Regions from separate parts of the Homo sapiens genome. Here all the other regions are linked to region 7. Evidence: promoter capture Hi-C in 16 types of primary human blood cells and fetal thymus (Javierre and others, 2016). All regions are on one chromosome and are shown on one strand. The core of a region is centred on a gene start or on the middle of the fragment in contact, and the rest is flanking DNA. Distances in the headings are between cores, read along the strand shown. Region 1 overlaps PSKH2 (protein serine kinase H2). Region 2 has its middle 54 kb from the start of PSKH2. Region 3 overlaps PSKH2 (protein serine kinase H2). Region 4 overlaps WWP1-AS1 (WWP1 antisense RNA 1). Region 5 overlaps ATP6V0D2 (ATPase H+ transporting V0 subunit d2). Region 6 overlaps WWP1 (WW domain containing E3 ubiquitin protein ligase 1). Region 7 holds the start of CA2 (carbonic anhydrase 2).

Region 1 (2,753 bases), core at 67-2,566, 600 kb after region 7:
GCCTCCTGAGTAGCTGAGATTACAGGTGCACACCACCATGCCTGGCTAATTTTTGTATTTTTTTTAGTAGAGACGGGATTTCACCATGTTTGCCAGGCTGGTCTTGAACTCCTGACCTGAAGTGATCTGCCCACCTCAGCCTCCCAAAGTGTTGGGATTACAGGTATGAGCCACTGTGCCTGGACTTCATTTTAATAAAACCTCTCCTAGCTAAGGATGACAGAGAATGGAATGTACTCAGGGAGTACCCAGGGAGAAGGCACGTTTTTATATCACATATTCAATACCAAAGATTCAAATGCAAATACTAAACTATGCTTTAAATAGTCTTACTTCTTTTATTGAGCTTATTTTTCCTGTAACTTTTTTTTTTGCCTTCTTGTTTGTTCTTTATATTCCTGTGTGTATTGAATAAAAATGACATTTGGCTGTACCAGATTACAGAAAACAGCTTTGTTCTCCACAGAGCATTTAATTTTCTGGCCAATTACCTTATCAAAACAGATAGCAATTTAGTAATCTTAAATAGATTCTTTCCCCTTTTCCCTTTCCAACTCTGCTTTTCTATTCACATGCATTCTCAGTGTGATTTTGAAGATAATCACAGGCATTTCAAATTCTATTGCTTTGCAGACCAACCAAGTTTTATATTACCTCTATTGTGGATGAAAGCACTTTGTAAATGCTAATTTATCGCTATGCCCTCAAAGCTGCCATCAAACTCATTTGTTCACAGAATTAATCATATCAAACAAACTACCATTTCTGAGAACTACACGCTTTTGCTCAAATAAAAGAAGCTTTATTCAATACTGTTAAGGGGGCTTCATATTTCCAATATTTGAAAAAATGCTAGTAATTTGGCATTGGAGGAAACAGTACACTTGAAGCCAAGATTTAGAGTGGTGGAAATAAATGCCTCAGATTGTTATTCAATTTGTCCCATAACAAATTCTTATAGCTACAGCCTTGCTCGTGAGTCCTCAACTGCCATGAATGGTGACCAACTTTATGATTTGCGTGGCTATACCTTGTAAAGTGCCTAGCACAGAGGAGTAGCAATAAACACTGAACAAAAGAATCATTCACTGAATACATATTATTCCTGAATCATCATATATATTTTGCAAACATTAAGTAAAGATCACATCAAGCTGGGAAGAATGCCTTTATAAGGTCTTTTCATTTCCTTCACTTTTACCCCTCCACTCTCTTAAAGAGTAGCCTCAGAGTCAGTTTAGTAGGTTGGACAATTTTGTATCATCCCAGAGACTACGTAAATTGGAAATATTACTTTAACCTCAGCTGCTATGATACAAACTGGGAATTTTTGAACATAGATTAAAGATTTGAAACAAGGAAATAATAATAGTGTTACAATCTGCTTGAGAGAAACAATTATAATAAACTCCCAACAAGAAAGTAAATATACTCATATCTAAATTCTATCATCTCTTTTCTGCAAAAGTTATAGATGGAATCACAACGGAGAAGGAAGACGACTGTGTTCTAGTCCCAATTCTACCACTAACTTGGACAAGTCACTTAACCTTTGGGGACACAACTACTCATTGGTTAAAGATGAGCCTTGAGTTAAAATCTCTGAAGCCCTTATAATGTTGAGATCCTCTACTTCTGTGATGCCTTTACACTCTATGGGGCTGGGTCTACCCCTGGATTGGGAATTAGTAGGGTGGATGAAAACTAGACCAGACTAGCATCATCTCTCTGACTACAAATGACCAGAGATGCCATTTAACCAATTCAGTCTTGACAAGACCCTGTACCTACTCAGATTCAGTTCAGTCATATTAGCCAGCCTTGTTCTTCTGTAAGCTTAGCAGCCACCGAACTAATCCTCCAGGAGTCACTGTACTAAAAGTTCTCAAGGAGGCCAGGAAATGGCTCTGCATAGATTCTGGACAGAGCACTGTGACGAAGTGAGCATGCAATTCTAGGACCAGCAGTGCCTTGGGAAGCCAGCTGAGCCACCCATTATTGTGTCTCCCCAAACACACAGAGGAGAAGGGGATTCCGTGATTTACTTGGTCAAAATGTCCAACATGTCCAACATGGTACACTCAGGAGGCCAACCAACCTGAAATCTTCTACATAGGAAGGGCTTATTTGTACTTCATGAAAACAATAATCAGCATTGCACTAATGTCTGCATGAGGACTGGTACCATGCACTGTGCAGCATAATTTACATGTATTACTTTAATTATGCTCACAACAGTCTTATGAGATAGATACTCCCATTTTACAGAGCTAGAAACGAAGGAAGGAAAAAAGCTAAGGAATGTTCTACATGGTACATGATAGAAGATATGGAACTGGACCTCAAGTCTGGCTGACTCAAAGGCGCATCTCTAGTTCACTCGCTGTAATCCCAATTTTTAGAATTAGTGGAAGATCCTTCACACACCAGGTCTGGCAGGACCCAGCCCCAGGATATTAGAGGCAAAGCCGTCTTCCACCGCAGATGCTGGAGGTTGGCAGACAGTCCTCTCACACCCCCACCCCCCACCTCCGAAGATAGGAATTCCTTCCCTTGTTTGCTGCTGCTCCTGCTCTCTTTTTTCCCATCCTCTGAACTCCCTGTTCAGAGATGTCAAAGAGAAATTGTACTGGGCACTTATGGAACACAGCAAGGAAGGCTTATCCCAGACTATTGCAATAGGAGTCGAGGCTTCTGCAACAGGGGAAAGAAAATGGACGCCTTCGAAACAAAAGGCAAGAAAGTTTTTAAGC
Region 2 (2,788 bases), core at 287-2,786, 550 kb after region 7:
CATGAGCAACACATCAAGGTAGTGGATCCTCCACCCCCACTTTAGCTTCCAGATTACTGATGGCCCTGCCAACTTCTTGACATCAACCTCAAGAGAGATCTTATGCTAGAATCACCCAGCTAAACTGTTCCCAAATTTCTGACTCACAGAAACTGTGAAAAATATGGTTCTTGTTTTAAGCCACTAAGTTTGAGGATAATTTATTGTGCAGCAACAGATGACTAACATAGACTTCAGTGAAAAATGAACTTAAAAATGGGATGCTAAGCATTGCTCATGGGGGAAAACGTTTTCACCTCAGGTGGACATTGTTGAAAGATTTCTTGGGATGTGCAGACAGGTCACTATCCAAAGCACATGTTGTAATGCACTAAGGATTTGGAGTCCCAAAGTTCCTTCTTGGTAACTCATCGCAACTCCAGCCTAACAGACTGATCTTCCTAAAAGTCAAGGAAGTGGGTGGGTCACCTGAGGTTAGGAGTTTGAGACCAGCCTGACCAATATTGTGAAACCCCACCTCTAATAAAACAAATACAAAAATTAGCCAGGCATGGTGGTGTGTGCCTGTAATCCCAGCTACTCAGGAGGCTGAAGCAGGGAGAAATGCTTGAACCCAGGAGACAGAGGTTGCAGTGAGCCCAGATCGTGCCACTGCACTCCAGCCTTGGCAACAGAGCAAGACTCCGTCTCAATAAATAAATAAATAAATAAATAAATAAATAAATAAATAATAAAAGCCAAGCAAACCGGGTCTGATGAAGCAAGAAGTTAAGAATTGGATTCATTCATTCAGTACCAAACACTGAAAAGAAATTGGACTGGCTTTAAAAAGGACCACGTAAAATGTGTGCACATATCCACTAGGGTATTAAATCTCTGGCAAATAACTATAGGTAAATCCTAAAATCCAAAACAAAATAAACTGCCCTGACTCATTCAGTTTCAATATAAAAATAAATAAAATATAATGTAATTAACAATAAAATGTACCTAAGAGAGAAAGAATGAAAGTTACAACCTGGAAATATTTCCGCTAATGAGATTGATTTGTTGTTTGACCACTTCCGCTGCTTCTTAGCGCCTTTAGGATTACCCTCCTCTCACTGTTCCCTTTCTTCTATTTCTATTAAAAATGACTCCACTTGGATTTTAATAATGAAGCATTAATATTTTCATCTGCAAAGATACATTCTCTACTGGTCTTGTCTCATTTCCTTCCATGAAACATAGGCCCAAGTCCCAAGTTTCTTGCTTTCCCTTGGCTTGGATCTAAGGGCAGCCTGACTTTTCTAGCTTTCCTCTGTAACTTCTACCATTACACCTCACCCCAGCCTACATGCTGACCTTTCGTTTCCCACCGCCTAGACTGAGAACCTGGTCCACAGTTAGTGCTAAATAAATACTAGTTGCTTTGTCCTTACCATAACTGTCACCATCGCCATCATCATCATCATGACCACCATCACTGTCATCTGTAGAAGTGCCAATTCCTTGTCTGGATTTCCAGCCCTTTGTTCCCCAGCTGGTTAGCTTCGGTGGGCAATCCTGTCTATTTAGGGGTATGGATTATCAACTTTGTCTGCTCAGAAATACATAACTTACCTGACCACTCCCTATCTTAGCCAATTTCCCTGGTCTTCAACCCCATGCCTTCCTCAATCCCTGGTACATTTATTTTCTTCTTCCACATAATCACAGCTTGTTAGAAGTAGAAATCATCTTAAAGATCATCTTGCTTAACCCCTACATTTTAAAAATGAGAAAAGCAAAATTTAAGTAGGTGTTATAACTAGCGGAGCCCACTTTCCATTCTCCAAGTCCAAGGTGTCTTTCTCTATGACCATGGTTCTCAGCCAGGGATGATTTCGGCACCCAAGCAGTGTCTGAAAACATTTCTGATTGTCAAAACGTGAGGGGCAGAGTATGCTCCTGGCATCTGCTAGTGTTTAGCAGTATCCTTGTCCTCTACTCACATTTAATCCTACTGCTGTAAATGGTGTTATATAGGAGACAAATGACGTTAAGAAATTAACGTAAGTACACTTGGCTAGTAAGTACAAAAGGCATCAATTACAAGGCCATCTGGCTTTAAGACACAATCCACTCTCCACAGTTGTGCCCTTGTCAAAAGAAAAGTAAAAAGGTGCTATATACTTCTGTTTCTGGCCCGGCCTCTTTCTTTCCGTGGTGATAGCACTCACACAAACATGGTGAACATTCCTAAAACCCGTCGGACTTTCTGTAAGAAGTGTGGCAAACACCAACCCCACAAAGTGACAAAATACAAGAAGAGCAAGGATTCTCTGAATGCCCAGGGAAAGCAGCGTTATGACAGAAAGCAGAGTGGCTATGGTGGGCAGACTAAGCTGATTATCCCGAAAAAGGCCAAAACTACAAAGAAGATTGTGCTAAAGTTTGAGTGCTTTGAGCCCAACTGCACGTCTAAGGCTATTAACAGATGCGTTTTGAACTGGGAGTAGATAAGAAGAGAAAGGGCCAAGTGATCCAATTCTAAGTGTCATCTTTTCTTTTATTATGAAGACAATAAAATCTTGAGTTTATGTTCAAAAAAAATGAAAGGTAAAAAAGTAACCCTCAATTATAGTATCATAATATTTTATATATTATAGTACATTATCATTTTTTCATTTTCCCAAATTTGGACCATTTATAGTTCTGAATTTCACAAGCATAAACTTATGTCCCCAGGGAAGAAAATTACTACTGTCCTTACTTGATGAGAAGAGGAATTGGCTTCAATAAGTGTTATAGGGCTCTGGGCCAAGTC
Region 3 (2,782 bases), core at 260-2,759, 590 kb after region 7:
TTGTGCTGTTGTTATCAATACGAGTTCCCATACTGCATTTACGGGAGCTGGACAAGGCAAAGCAGCTGTCTTTTACGAACTATGTCAACATCAGGTCAGTGTTTGCAACACTGTGGTCATCTCACAGAGTTCCTGTGACTTCAAGAATGAGAAGGAGTAGAAGGGGAAAGTGGAATGGATTGAGAAATCATCAACTTTTCCCTCCCTTTGAAAGCTTACTCTGAGCCAGGCACAGTAGCTCACGTTTGTAATCCCAGCACTTTGGGAGGTTGAGGAAGAAGGATCGTTTGAGTCCAGGAGTTTGAGACCAGCCTGGACAACACAGCAAAACCCCATCTCTACAAAAAATGTAAAAATTAGCCAGGCACAGTGGCACATGTCTGTAATCCCAACTACTCAGGAAGCTGAGGTGGGAGGATTCCTTCAGCCCAGGCATTCAAGGCTGCAGTGAGCTATGATGGCAGCACCACACTCCAGCCTGGGTGACAGAGTGAGACCCTGTCTCTAAAAAGAAAGAAAGAGGAGAGAGAGAGAGAGAGAGAGCGAAGAGGGGAGGGGAGAGGCAGAGAGAGAGAAGAGGGGAGGGGAAGGCAGAGAGAGAGAGAGAGAAAGAGTGAGAAAGAAGAAAGAAAGAAAGAAAGAAAGAAAGAAAGAAAGAAAGAAAGAAAGAAAGAAAGAAAGAAAGAAAGAAAGAAACGAAAGAAAGAAAGAAAGAGAAAAGAAAGAAAAAGAAAGGAAGAAAGGAAGAGAGAAAGAGGAAGAAAGAAAGGAAGAAAGGCAGAGAGAGAGAGAAAGAGGAAGAAAGAAAGAAGGAAAGGAGGGAGGGAGGGAAGGAAGGAAGGAAGGAAGTGAAGTGCACTTCCTCAAACACACTGGGCCCTCACTGTTCCCAATCAGCTGAGAACAAATAGATTCAACATGTAACAAATAGATTCAAATAGATTTGACTACAAATAGATTCAACACGTAACAGCTATGACACAGTACAATATGCACAGCTAAGTAGTTCCTATTTCAGGGATTTATAGTGGCAGTGTTTACAGCAATTGCACATACTTTAAATACAATAGCAGCACTTCATAGTGGCATTTCTGAGCATGGGAATAAGAAGGCTGTTGCTTTATATTCAAATTTGCTTTCTGCATTATCTGCTGAGAAAGAAAAGAAACAATTTAATCTGAGGAATGCAAGCCCCTTTAAATTATCAGGCCAAGAGAGGCACTGAAATATAACAGCCTTCACTTCTCATTCTCCTCTTGTGCTAAATAATTACCTCTTGAAGCCACTTGCTATGTGGGCTCTACGCTATCTAACACCAAGTAGCCATAAAGTGCCATAGGTTGGACACCATCACTCATACCCCACAGTTCAACAATATAGCCAATCACTAATCAATGTTATTTATGTAAACCAGTGTTAATTCCTCTCAAACAACTTTGTATCAGCCCAGACCTAAGAGCACACGCCCCACAGAAGTTAGGACGTTTTCCAGAGCAGCTGTCCCCACTTTGGCCTGATCAGACAAGCTCTTAAAAACTATATTTTGTGCCTCAGCCTCATCCTGTAGGTTGACTCTACCAGCACATACCGTATACCCGGAAAACACTACAGTTTAGTGTCCTTTGTCCTCTGCAAAAGAGAAACATTGAGAAAATTGCCCATACGTTTGCTGTATCTCAAACACAATTTCTAATTGATGTGTGTTTTTAAAAGATGGTATTTCCAAGGAAAGATAAGGGAATCCTTCCATGTATTGTCTCTGCCATTGTGTAACGATAAAGCAGAGTCCATACATAGACATCACATTCTCCAATCTCTTAGCACCCTATTAACTCTATGTTTTGTTTTTTGTTGTTTTGTTTTGCTTTTTTTAGAGATGGGGTCTTGTTATATTGCCGAGGCTGGACTTGAACTCCTCCTGGTCTCAAGCCATCCTCCTGCCTCAGTTTCCCAAGTAACTGTGACTGCAGACCCACTCCCACCCCCACCCATGCCAACTTAACTCAGAATTTGTTTGTTTGTTTGTTTTTGAAATGGTGTCTCATTGTGTTGCCCAGGCTGGAGTGCAGTGGCATGATCGTGGCTCACTGCAACCTCCGCCTCCCGGGTTCAGGCGATTCTCGTGCCTCACTCTCCCATGCTGGGAGAGTGCCTCACTCTCACATGCTGGGATTACAGGCATGTGCCACCAAGCCCAGCTAATTTTTGCATTTTTGTAGAAACCGGGTTTCGCCACGTTAGCCAGGCTGGTCTCAAACTCCTAACCTCAGGTGATCCGCCTGCCTCGGCCGCCCAAATTGTTGGGATTACAGGCGTAAACACTGCCCCCCGCCTTAATCCAGAATTTGAATAATAAGAAACCAGTAAAAGAACTCTTCTTTTTTTTCCTTCAGTGTATTTAGGTAAATGAGACATGAGAAATATTTATCCCAGAAATAAAAGTTATAAAATAAATAAGCATATCTGACAAATACTCAAACACAGGAAAAACAAAATATAAACTCTGCAAGTCTAGAAAAAGCACATCAGTGACTGACACTCACAATGCCATGCCCTCTGGTTCTGGCTAGACATCTATTTGGCCCTGAATCCAGACAAATCTATCTGAGCTCAAGACTATTTAAATGAAGGTTAAATTAGATGGCTCCTCTGGAACATTTTAAGACAAGCAACTGAATCTTTCTGAAAGAGTATAAAATATGTGCAACAAGGTTTATGGAGAGCTTATTAAGATGACCCCAAATGATTGTACGTTTAAAATGCAGTTGAAGAAAATAAAGTA
Region 4 (2,700 bases), core at 184-2,683, 870 kb after region 7:
TCATGATTAAAAAGCTCTTGACAGGCCAAGCACAGTGGCTCATGTCTGTGATCCCAGCACTTTGGGAGGCTGTGGTGAGAGGATCATTTGAGTCCAGGAGTTCGAGACCAGCCAGGGCAACATAGTGAAACCCTGTCTCTACAAAAAAATGAGCCGAATGTGGTGGTATGCATCTGTAGTCCCAGGTACTCAGAAGGCTGAGGTGGAAGGATCACATGAGCCCAGGAGGCTGAGGCTCAGTGAGCCATGATCGTGACAGCACTCCAGGCTAGGTGACTGAGACCCTATCTCAAAAATATAAAAAAGCTCTCAGCAAACTAAGAAAAGAAGAGAACTTCCTCAACCTCATAAATTACGTATACAAAAAGCCTAAAGATAGTATACTTGATGGTAAAACACTGAATGCTTTGTCTGAAAATCAGGAACAAGGTAAGGATGTATTTCTCATCACTTCTGCTCAACATTGTACTGGATGTTCTAGTCCATGCAATAGGGCAAGAAAAGGAAATAAAAGCATACAGAATGGAAGGAAAAAAATAAAACTCTTTATTTGGAGAAACATGATTGTATACATAGAAAATCAAAAGAAATCTATAAAATACTACTAGAACTAATAGGTTTTTAAACATGATCTCAGTGTACAGGACTAATATTAAAAAAGAATTGTATTTAAATACCCTATTAATGAACCACTAACAATGAAATATCATTTATAATATGAGGCACTTCAAAATGTTCATGGAAAAATTGAATTAAAAGATAAAGAATATAAACTTTATTTCTCAACATAAGCTCCATCGAGGTCAACCATGGTTGTAAGTGATGACACCAGTCATTTAATCCATCCCTAAAAAAATTGAGATTCATGGAAATTTAACCATGTCTTTTTTACATGATTAAATGACGAAAAATGGGAGCCCTTTGCAGATTTTTTAAGATTAGGAAACAAAAAGAAGTTAGAAAGAGCCAAATTAGGACTGTAAGGTCGATGCCTAATGATTTCTCATTGAAAGTCTTGTAAAATTGCCCTTGTTTGATGAGAAGAATGAGTGGGAGCATTGTTGCGGTAGAAAAAGACTGGTGAAGCTTTTCCAGGAATTTTTCTGCTAAAGCTTTAGCAAACTTTCTCAAAACACTCTTGAAACAAGCAGATATTATTGTTCTTTGGCTCTTCAGAAAGTCAACAAGCAAAATAAGTATCCCAAAAAACTATTCCCACGACCTTTGCTCTTGGCAGGTCTGCTTTTGCTTTGACTGGACCACTTCCACCTCTTGGTAGCCATTGCTCTGATTGTACTTTGTCTTCGGGATTATACTGGTAAAGCCATGTTTCATCTCCTGTTACAATTCTTGAAAGAAATGCTTCAGGATTTTCATCTTACTTGTTTAAAATTTCCATTAAAACTCTGTTCTTGTTTGCAGTTGATCTGGGTACAATGGTTTTGGCACCTGTTGAGTGAAAAGTTTGCTCCACTTTAGTTTTTCAGTCAGATTGTGTAAGCTATGAGATTTGAGTTTTCTATGGTGTTGGCTATTGTTTCTCCTACTAATTGTTAGGCCTCTTGAATGAGGTTATGAACAAGGTGAGTTTTTTCCTTGCAAACTGATGTGAAGGTCTGTCATTGCAGGCTTCATCTTTTACATAATCTCCTCCCTTCTTAAAATGAATTACCCATTTGTAAACTGCTGATTGCTTTGGTGCATTGTCCCAATAAATTTTTCATAAAGCATCAGTGATTTTACCATTGTTCTACCCAAGCTTCCCCATAAATTTGATGTTTGTTCTTGCTTCAACTCTAGCAGAATTCATGCTACTCTGATAGGGGCTTTTTTTCAAACTGATGTCTTATCCTTCTTAGTGACTCAAAATACATCCTGCTCATACATGTTATAGCAAGTTAGTATGAGTTCATCTGGGGGCGAAAAATTTTAAAATCCATGCATAGTTTTTTCAAAATATGCATATTTCTATGAACTTGTTGAAGATCTCTTGCAGCATCAAAAAGCATAACATATGCAAAGAACCTGGAAGAGTCAAAATCATTTTGAAAAAGAACAAATTTGGAAAATTTACACTTCCCAATTTTAAGACTTTCTAAAGTTATAGTAATCAAGACAGTGTGATATTTGTGTAAGGATAGACATATGGTTCAATGGAAGGAATAGAGAGCCCAGAAATAGACAGAGTTTTCACAAAAGTTCCAAAGTAATTCAATGGGGAAAGGATTGTCTTTTCAACAAATGGTATTGAAACAACCATATATCTATTTAGAAAAAAAAAATGAACATTGACTCTTTCATCTCAGCATATGCAAAAATTATTTTGAAATAGATTATAGACCCAAATGTAAAAGCTAAAGCTATAAACTTTAAGAAAAAAAGTATTAACAAATCTTCACTGTCTTAAAGTAAAATTTCTTAAATATGTCACAAAATGATGTGAACTTCATCAAAATAAAAACATTGACTTTTCAAAACACATTGTTAAGAAAATGAAAATGCAAGTATATTTGTTGTATAAAAATTTCTCCAAAACCTAGTGACCGAAAACAATAATACAGATTTATTATTTCTCACAGTTTTTGCAGTTCTGGAATATATGTATTTCTTGGCTGGCTACTTCTGGCATAGAGTGTTACGTGAGATTGCAGTCATCTGAAGACTTGAGAGGGATTGGAAGATCCATTTCCAAGGTGCCAC
Region 5 (2,840 bases), core at 242-2,741, 640 kb after region 7:
GTACCTACTGAAATTCCAAATGCTTATACACTTTGTCCAGGAATTCCAAGTCTCATAGACAAACTTACACACATGTGAGATGACAGCTATACAAGGCTCTTTATGTGGCATAGTTTTTTGTTGTTGTTTTTGAGACAGAGTCTCACTCTGTCACCCTGGCTGGCATGTAATGGCACAATCTCGGCTCACTGCAACCTCTGCCTCCTGGGTTCAAGTGATTCTTGTGCCTCTGTCTCCCGAGTAGCTGGGACTACAGGCGTGCACCACCATGCCTGGCTAATTTTTTGTATTTTTAGTAGAGATGGGGTCTCACCATGTTGGCCATGACAGGTCTCAAACTCCTAACCTCAAGTGATCCACCCACCTCAGCCTCCCAAAGTGCTGGGATTACAGGCATGACCCACCGCGGCTGGCCTTTTATGTGGCATAGTTTGGAATAGCAAAAGATGGAAACAAATCAAGTGTCCCTCTGCAGGAAATAAGTTTTCATTTTTTAAAATTTATTTTTTTAATAGAGACAGGGTCTTATGTTGCCCAGGCTACTCTCAAACTCCTGGGCTCAAGCAATCCTCCCACCTTGGCCTTCTAACATGCTGGGATTATAGGCCTGAGCCACCACAACCAGCCAGGAATAAGTTAAATAAGTTATGGAACATTCACATAATGGAATATTCTGCATTTAAAAGGAAAAACGCATGAGGAAGCACTCTAAAAGGAGAAATATGGAAAGATTACCAAGATACATTAAGTCAGAAAAGCAAGGGGAAGAACCAGGTGTGGCATGGCACTCTTTAGTAAAAAGTGGGATAAATTTTAAAAATATACTTCCTATATGATTACCTAGCTACAAAGAAACTGTGAAAGGATTAAAAAGAAACTAAAAATAGAGGTTACGTGAAGCTAGGAACGAGTGGCAGGGGGTGGTGGGTAGGTGAGTGACAAGCATAGGGACCTGTCACTGTTTACCCATATATACACCTATTACTTATTTTTAATTTCAAAATAACATATGGGAGGATGACTGATTTCAAAGAGCTTTCTCTTTGCTTCCTTAGACATTATTTGTACCTCTAATTATAGCACTTTTTCTGCCTTATATTAAAAAGACATATCCAATTCTCTCCTGTTTAAAACACATACACACACACACACACACACACACACACATCAAGAGCTTCCATCAGGCAAGATAAATGATAAATGACAGCTTAAAAGGCTGATCCACCTTGTAAGCCCTTCGTCAGAATGTTTTGCCTTTTCTAGAGCTGCACCTTCAATCACAAATTCCATCCCTTATCCCATGTTCCTGGAAAGCGACCATCTCCCTTTAAAGTCTTCATTTAAGTCACTTCCTCTGTAAGCCCCTTCCTACAGAATCTATCATGGGATGGAATTGACAAGCTTCAACTTTAGCTCCACGGTACCTTGTAATGAACCTAATCCTGTATAACATCTGTGACATTTGCATAGATGTGTCATCCTGAGGCAGAACATTTGCCTCGTTTGTCTATCTAGCTCCAGAGGCTGCTGCAGTTACAGGCTTAACTGATAAATAAATATATAGCTCTATCTGCCTTATTGCAAGCTTTTTTATTTTTATTTTTTAAGACGGTCTGGCTCTGACACCCAGGCTGGAGTGCAGTGGCATGATCTCAGTTACTGCAACCTCTACCTCTCCCGGACTTAAGCGACCCTCCCACCTCAGCCTCCTGAGTAGCTGGAACTACAGGCACAGGCCACTGTTCCTGACTAATTTTTGTATTTTTGTAGAGACAGGGTTTATTCATGTTGCGCAGGCTGGTCTTGAACTCCTGAGCTCAAGTGATCTGCCCACCTCAGCCTCCCAAAGTACTGAGATTACCGGTGTAAGCCAGCGAGTGCCTAGCCTGTAAACTTCTTTTTTCTTTTCTTTTTTTTTTTTTTTGAGATGGATTCTCTGTCGCCTAGGCTGGAGTGCAGTGGCGCGATCTCGGCTCACTGCAAGCTCCGCCTCCCAGGTTCATGCCATTCTCCTGCCTCAGTCTCCCGAGTAGCTGGGACTACAGGCACCCACCACCACGCCCGGCTAATTTTTTATATTTTTAGTAGAGATGGGGTTTCACCGTGTTAGCTTGGATAGTCTCGATCTCCTGACCTCGTGATCTGCCCATCTCGGCCTCCCAAAGTGCTGGGATTATAGACGTGAGCCACTGTGCCTGGCTGCCTGTAAACTTCTTAAAGGCAGAAAGTACACCTTAAACTTTTCTCTCTCCTACCTCCCTAAGCCTAAGAGTGTATTTTGCATGTAGTAAGAATCTGAAAATACACACTGGAAATATCTACATATTGGGTTCAAGTCCTGGATCTTCTGCTTTATGGTTCTGGGATTCTAAGCAAGTGCTTAACCTTTAACATGGTGCTTTTTTTTTTTATTTTTATTTTTTTATTTTGAGACAGGGTCTCATTCTGTTGCCCAAGCCAGGGAATGCAGTAGTGGGTAGCGTGATCATGGCTCAATGCAGCCTCAATCTCCTAGGCTCAAGTGATCCTCCCACCTTAGCCTTTCAAGTACCTGGGACCACAGGTGCATGTCACCAAGCCTGGCTAACTTTTTTGTCATTTGCAAAGACAAGGTCTCACTTTGTTGCCCAGGCTGGTCTTGAACTCCTGGCCTCAAACAATCCTCCTGCTTCAGCCTCCCAAAATGCTGGGATTACAAGCGTGAGCACTGATAAGTGCTTTCTTATCTCATCTTTAGATGGTATCTCCGTGGCCTAACTCCCAGTTCACTGGGAGGATCCAAAATATCTGAAGATGTTTTGTAAATTGTAAATCTTAACAATACACCCCTGCACTGTAGT
Region 6 (2,865 bases), core at 243-2,742, 920 kb after region 7:
TTCACTTTATGGTACTTTTTAAAAAAATATTTTGAGAAATTTCCTTTTATTACTTTGCATTTTAAAATACACGTTTACTGTTCTTGATTTTTCTTTGGCTTTTATTTGAATATTTAAGTCTCCCTTCCTTTTCCTCTGCCCCCACCAAAAACACTCAAAACCAATCAGTTGGTGTTTTTATTTTAAAATAATGTATTAAATTGGAGCTAATTGAAATATTTCAATGTTAAACTTTTCAAATCTAGGAATATATCATATCATTTTTTTTAAGCCTTTGTTTCCATTGGTAAAGTTTTATAGTTCTCTTCATGTGACTCTTACTTATTTCTTAAGTTTATTACTAGATTTTTTGAAGGGATGTTATTGTGAGTGGGATTTTTGAGTTAACTCTCCCTACCCTCTCACAGGTGACTCATTTTCTGATAGTTTAAAAATACTTATATAACCTTAGAGTGGAGGACATTCTGTGTATAACACCAAAGGAAACTCATTAAATGAGAAAAAAAATCTATATATTCTACTAACTAGAACAACTTTTTGAATTAATAAGGTTGTCTTCTAGTTATTTAAAATCACATTATTTATATGTACATTTTGCTAGCATATTTATAAATTCCTCATGAGATTAAAGATTATTATCTTTGAAAAATCTCTTTTCTTACCTTACCCTCTAGTATTGTTGAGTATTTTGCCAAGTAAGGGTATTCAGTGGACGTATTTTGGATGGATCTGTAATGAACTCAGAGAAGAGTTAATACTATATAGTCAGTAATAATAGAGTAACAGCTACCATTGTTGGATGCCAGACATTCATTGATGGTGATAGTGCCTTGCATGCCTTCACTCACCAATCCTAAGAATCAGGTACTGCTGTTCTTCTGATTTTTCAAGTAAGGGATGGAGAAATTAATTGACTTACTGTGGTCAGGCTTTTAGTAAGTGGCACATTTGAAAAATGAACCCAGATATGTCTATCCCTCTGCTTTTAACACCATCATATACTGACTTTTCCTTCTTCCAGTCTTCTGCTATATGGATAAGACTTACATATACTGAGGAAATATATGAGCACTTTTATTCAAAGAATCTTGGGAAGTTTCTTGGGAGAGAGCAAGTCTGGGCCTTCTATATTAGTCCAGTGGCGCTGAACTTAGAGCAGTTTGGAACGATGAAGGATGGAAATGAGTTTTGCTAAGACCCTGGTAGTAGCAGTTCAGACATAACATTGAACACTCTTTAATTGCTATGTTGCCGGTACTTAAATATAGTATTTGCTTGGAATCTTGCATTTATCACATTGTATTTCAGTGATTTATTTGTGTGACTATTTAGATTATTATTCTCTCACAATAGAATGGAAGCTTACATAGCTTTGGTTGTTTTTATATCCTTAACATCCGGTGTGTATGACATGAAAGAGGCTTTTCCCTTCCTCATCTCTGATCTAGGGTGTTCACAGGTAATTGATTATAGAGGTGATCTTGATAAGTTGTTCTTACTGCCTGTTCATCAGTATTTTGCCCAGAAAGTAGATAGTCCCTGATTTCTTCATATCTCAGGTATATTAGATTTTCACTTTCTGGAAGGGGTTATGATTAACTTTTATAATGACATTTTGATTTTTAAGCTTTTATTTGAAAATGCAAATACTACTTCTTTTCGAAGCTAACTTTCCAGATAAAACATTAAAGCATTTTTTTAAGTGCCACAGTTATGTAATTTCAGAAAGACAAGTTAATAGTACCTGGCAGGGATGTTAATGGGCATGTTGAATCTGAAGACACTTTTCCCTTGATCTTTAATGCAGTTGTTGGTGAGAATGTGGAGAAATCAGTGTATATTGTTGATAGGAATATAAAATGGTGCAGCCACTTTGGAAAATAGCCTGGCAGTTACTCAACAGAGGGTTATCACATGAGCCAGGAGTTCTACTCCAAAGTATATGCCCAAGAGAAATGAAAACATACGTCCACAAAAAAGCCTGTGCACAAATGTTCATAACAGCTTTATGCACAATAGCCACAAAGTGGAAGCAGTTCATATATTTATCAGTTAATAGATAAAATGTCATATACCCATATAATAGAATGGTATTTGGCAAGAAAAGGAGTGGAGTACTGGTGCATGTTACAATATGGATGAACCTCAAAAATGTAATGCTGAGTGAAAGAAGCCAGTCACAAAAAAAACCCACATTATATGATTCCATCTATATGAAATGTCCAGAATAGGCAAATTTAAAGAGACAGAGAGTAGGTTAGTGGCTGCCTAGGGATGGGGGTGGGGAGAGGGTTGATTGGGAGGAGAAAGAAGGGGGTGACTGCTTAATGGTATGGAGTTTATTTTTATGGTAACAAAACTGTTTTAAAATTGATTGTGGTGATGGTTGTGCCACTCTGAATATAGTGAAACCATTGAATTGTACAGTTTAAGTGGGTGAATTATATGATATGTGAATGATAGCTCACTAAAACTGTTACAGAAACATTCAAATGGCTCTCAAGCATTATCAGTAGCCCTTTTGTATTGTTTCTTCATTCTGCCAACGAGAAGAGTTCTAGTTGCACAAGAAGCACAATTCCATTCTTATTGATTGATTAGTGTGCAGTACTACTTTTTGGCAACACATACTCACTAGTGAATTATTTGTCTGTTAGTTTCTAGTGCCAAACTTAAAAGAAAAAAGAACTGGTTCGGAACAGCAATATATACAGAAGTAGTTGTAGATGGAGAAATTACGAAAACAGCAAAATCCAGTAGTTCTTCTAATCCAAAATGGGATGAACAGCTAACTGTGTAAGTACCTTGTGTAAAGGACGGAAAATCTTCACAAGAAAGTGTATTTTTTGGAATATGTTTTTTGTT
Region 7 (2,700 bases), core at 198-2,697:
GACACAATCACATTAAACTGTGTCCTGCTTCCCCAACTGTAACTCTAATACTATTGCCCTCAGAGATTGCAGAGACCACAGAACCGAACTCCTTCCCACAAACCCCCGGATTTTTCTGTGGCAAAATCCCTTGTAGGAAATGAATTCTCTCTATATCTCAAAACAGCCTCACTTACCCAGTAGGCCCTGTAAGCACAGTGTCTCAGGTCCACAATACTTTTAGATGCCCAGGAAAATGTTTCCTTTTAAAATAAGAACAAAAAAGAAAAAAATTAGGTGTTGGTTAAAGAAAATGTTTAAATATATAATATTAAGATATTTATCTTTATGTCAGTGTTGGTATAAATGCGTGTTTATGAAAAAGGGACCCACCAAGGTGAAATGCCGTAGGACCCACAAATGTCATAATGCTGGCTGGCCTCAAAATGTCCTTCCTATTAAACTATTTTGAATGATTCCTAGGTATGCCAGATGCCAATTTTTCTTGGCCAGCCAGGGAACGTCTCATGTCTTTGGAAGAAATTATCTTTCTCTTACTGGATTCTTCTGAGAAAAGTGATTTGTTAAAAGTTTTGGTTATTTCAAATCAATATGTACTCAACTAGGACGTCTCCTCACCCACGTTAATTTTTTAAAGAGGAGGAAAGTAGGAGAAGATGAGCGCTTCATGTAAGGCTCTGCCAGCCTACGAGGAAATGCAATCCTCCAGGCTCGCCCGAGCGTGGGCTGCGGGCAGGGGACTGTGGGGCCGTTGTCTCGTTTTATTCCACGGCCGTGCAGCAGAGGGCGCGTGCCTCTCAGCACTCATGCTGCGCGCTCCCCTGCGCCTCTAGGATCGTATCCCTATTTGCCCCAAGGTCATAGCTCCTAACCCAGCTTGCCAGCCCCAGGCCGGGGACACCAGAGACTGAGCCCTTCGCGCTGGAGACCCCGGCGCGGGTGGGGCGGGAGGGCTCCGGGGCCAAGAGACAGGTCACAATGGGGACAGGGGACGAAAGGCGCCGGGGGTCCGGGTCCCGAGCAGTCCCCGCCGCCGCCAGACTCCGCAGCCGGGAGGGGGATGGGGTGCGCGTAGAGGCTCCGCGGCCCGGGTTGGACGGAGGAGCCCAGGAGCCACCGCAGCCGCCGCACGCCCAGAGCTCCGAGCTTCGCTGCCAGCCCAGGACACCGGGGCCCTGCCGTGGGCCGAGGGGAGCCGGGCGGCGGGAGAGGAGCCCCGGAGCCCCGGAGCCCCGGAGCCCCGCCGGGCGCCAGCCGAGAGGGCGTTTTCCCCGCCCCCGGAGACTCGCCCGCCCGGCCCGCCCCGCCCCGAGCGCGGGGAGTTCACCTCCGCCCGTCACCACCTCCCCTTGTCGCCTAGGTCCACCCGAGCCCCCTCCCCCGGGCCGCCCCCGAGCACGAAGTTGGCGGGAGCCTATAAAAGCTGGTGCCGGCGCGACCCGCGGACACACAGTGCAGGCGCCCAAGCCGCCGCCGCCAGATCGGTGCCGATTCCTGCCCTGCCCCGACCGCCAGCGCGACCATGTCCCATCACTGGGGGTACGGCAAACACAACGGTGAGTGCCGGCGACGGCCAGCGCGGGGGCGCCCCGATCCCCGATCCCCGATCCCCGATCCCCGAGCCCGGATGCCGGCCCGGGGCCCGCAGCGCCCGCACATGCTGTTTACCGCGGCCGCGGGGAGTGCTGGAGGCTCAGGTGCGCCCCGGGCGCTCGCTCCGCTCGCGGCTCCGCGGCGCCGGGGATGTCCCCCTTGCCCCAGCTGCGAGGCCACTGTGGAGGAATCCCCGCGTCCGCCGGAGGCGCGTAGGGCCCGAGGGAGGGGAGGCGCAGCCCTGGCCGCGGGACCCGAGGACAGTCCCTCCCGGGTCCCGACCTGGGGATCATTTTAACCGGACCTAGGAGGAGGCGGGAAAGGGTTGTAACGGAAAATTCTAGTTGTTGATCGCAGAGAAATTAAGAGACTCCCCTCCCCCCTCCCCCACCTTCCACCCCCACCCCACCCCTCCAGCTTCAGCACCACCTGTGGCTAAGGCGCTCAGCACGAACTGTCCCGGGGCATTTTCCAGTGCTGGTTTGAATCCATGGCTCTGATTTCCGAGTTTTCCCTTCATCTCTCGACTTCTAATGTTAGGGGGTCGGACATCAGGAATCGGGTTTTATCTTGGCCTCAGATCTGGTTCTTCGGAGCCAGCGGAGCAGAGGAGCATGCGTCTGGCGCACCTAGCGCATCTTTGGAGGGTGTGGGGCTTCCCAGGTAGTGGGGAACCCTGACGGTTAAAGGTGGGGTGGGCCCGGGCCTGGGCAGTGAGGAAAGGATCCAGACCTCCTTGAATGTCTTAAGTGAGCTTGCATATCCCAAAATCGCAACCACAAGCCCTGACATTAGTGTCTGCCCGATTTCAGTTGCTGAATTTCAGTAAAACGACCTTAAAATAGCTAATATTTATATAGCACTCAGTGATCTAAGAGCTTTACATATATCGATTCTAATTCTTACAGCGACATCTATGAGGTAGATTTCTAATTATCCCATATTACAAATGTGGAAACTGAGGCACAGATTACGTGTTTTCCCAAAATTTAGCCCATTGTTAAGTGATGCTTCTAAAATTGGAACTGAGCAGATTGGCTCCGGAATGATTGCTCTTCTCTAGGGGTCTGGGTGTACCTTTCCCCACAATGGGGGATTCACATGTCT

Evidence for each region. Contacts are between HindIII fragments. The CHiCAGO score rates a contact against its expected background, and 5 or more counts as called.
Region 1: a fragment that was not itself captured here is called in contact with the fragment with the promoter of CA2 in region 7 in 14 of 17 cell types (endothelial precursors, fetal thymus, total CD4 T cells and 11 more); the score reaches 10.9 in endothelial precursors.
Region 2: a contact is called between a fragment that was not itself captured here and the fragment with the promoter of CA2 in region 7, in 17 of 17 cell types (endothelial precursors, megakaryocytes, neutrophils and 14 more). The highest score is 24.8, in endothelial precursors.
Region 3: a contact is called between a fragment that was not itself captured here and the fragment with the promoter of CA2 in region 7, in 16 of 17 cell types (monocytes, neutrophils, M2 macrophages and 13 more). The highest score is 17.6, in monocytes.
Region 4: a fragment that was not itself captured here is called in contact with the fragment with the promoter of CA2 in region 7 in 4 of 17 cell types (total B cells, naive B cells, monocytes and 1 more); the score reaches 10.1 in total B cells.
Region 5: a fragment that was not itself captured here is called in contact with the fragment with the promoter of CA2 in region 7 in 11 of 17 cell types (M1 macrophages, total CD8 T cells, total CD4 T cells and 8 more); the score reaches 12.2 in M1 macrophages.
Region 6: a contact is called between a fragment that was not itself captured here and the fragment with the promoter of CA2 in region 7, in 2 of 17 cell types (naive B cells and M1 macrophages). The highest score is 5.4, in naive B cells.

What each region holds. Positions count from the first base shown.
Region 1 is chr8:86,066,318-86,069,070 of GRCh38, forward strand. The region is part of intron 1 of PSKH2 (protein serine kinase H2); the gene reads right to left. Among named protein-coding and RNA genes, the nearest start is that of PSKH2, 2.0 kb to the right of the region's middle. The HindIII fragment of the contact is 1,036 bases long and covers 799-1,834 here.
Region 2 is chr8:86,014,612-86,017,399 of GRCh38, forward strand. It overlaps the pseudogene RPL36AP31. Among named protein-coding and RNA genes, the nearest start is that of PSKH2, 54 kb to the right of the region's middle. The HindIII fragment of the contact is 4,221 bases long and covers 1-2,788 here.
Region 3 is chr8:86,049,054-86,051,835 of GRCh38, forward strand. All of the region lies in intron 2 of PSKH2 (protein serine kinase H2), which reads right to left. Among named protein-coding and RNA genes, the nearest start is that of PSKH2, 19 kb to the right of the region's middle. The HindIII fragment of the contact is 2,595 bases long and covers 213-2,782 here.
Region 4 is chr8:86,332,751-86,335,450 of GRCh38, forward strand. It overlaps WWP1-AS1 (WWP1 antisense RNA 1), which reads right to left. Exons shown (of 6, transcript XR_007060994.1): 6 at 524-1,449. Among named protein-coding and RNA genes, the nearest start is that of WWP1, 8.4 kb to the right of the region's middle. The HindIII fragment of the contact is 647 bases long and covers 1,111-1,757 here.
Region 5 is chr8:86,103,713-86,106,552 of GRCh38, forward strand. All of the region lies in intron 1 of ATP6V0D2 (ATPase H+ transporting V0 subunit d2), which reads left to right. Among named protein-coding and RNA genes, the nearest start is that of ATP6V0D2, 6.2 kb to the left of the region's middle. The HindIII fragment of the contact is 184 bases long and covers 1,400-1,583 here.
Region 6 is chr8:86,378,069-86,380,933 of GRCh38, forward strand. WWP1 (WW domain containing E3 ubiquitin protein ligase 1) reads left to right here. Exons shown (of 25, transcript NM_007013.4): 4 at 2,658-2,796. Among named protein-coding and RNA genes, the nearest start is that of WWP1-AS1, 35 kb to the left of the region's middle. The HindIII fragment of the contact is 266 bases long and covers 1,360-1,625 here.
Region 7 is chr8:85,462,560-85,465,259 of GRCh38, forward strand. It overlaps CA2 (carbonic anhydrase 2), which reads left to right and starts at 1,448. Exons shown (of 7, transcript NM_000067.3): 1 at 1,448-1,556. The coding sequence starts at 1,523. It overlaps CA3-AS1 (CA3 antisense RNA 1), which reads right to left and starts at 2,356. Exons shown (of 3, transcript NR_121630.1): 1 at 2,023-2,356; 2 at 177-242. RefSeq lists silencers at 684-943, 1,014-1,333, 1,444-1,913 and an enhancer at 1,557-2,056. The HindIII fragment of the contact is 7,146 bases long and covers 1-2,700 here.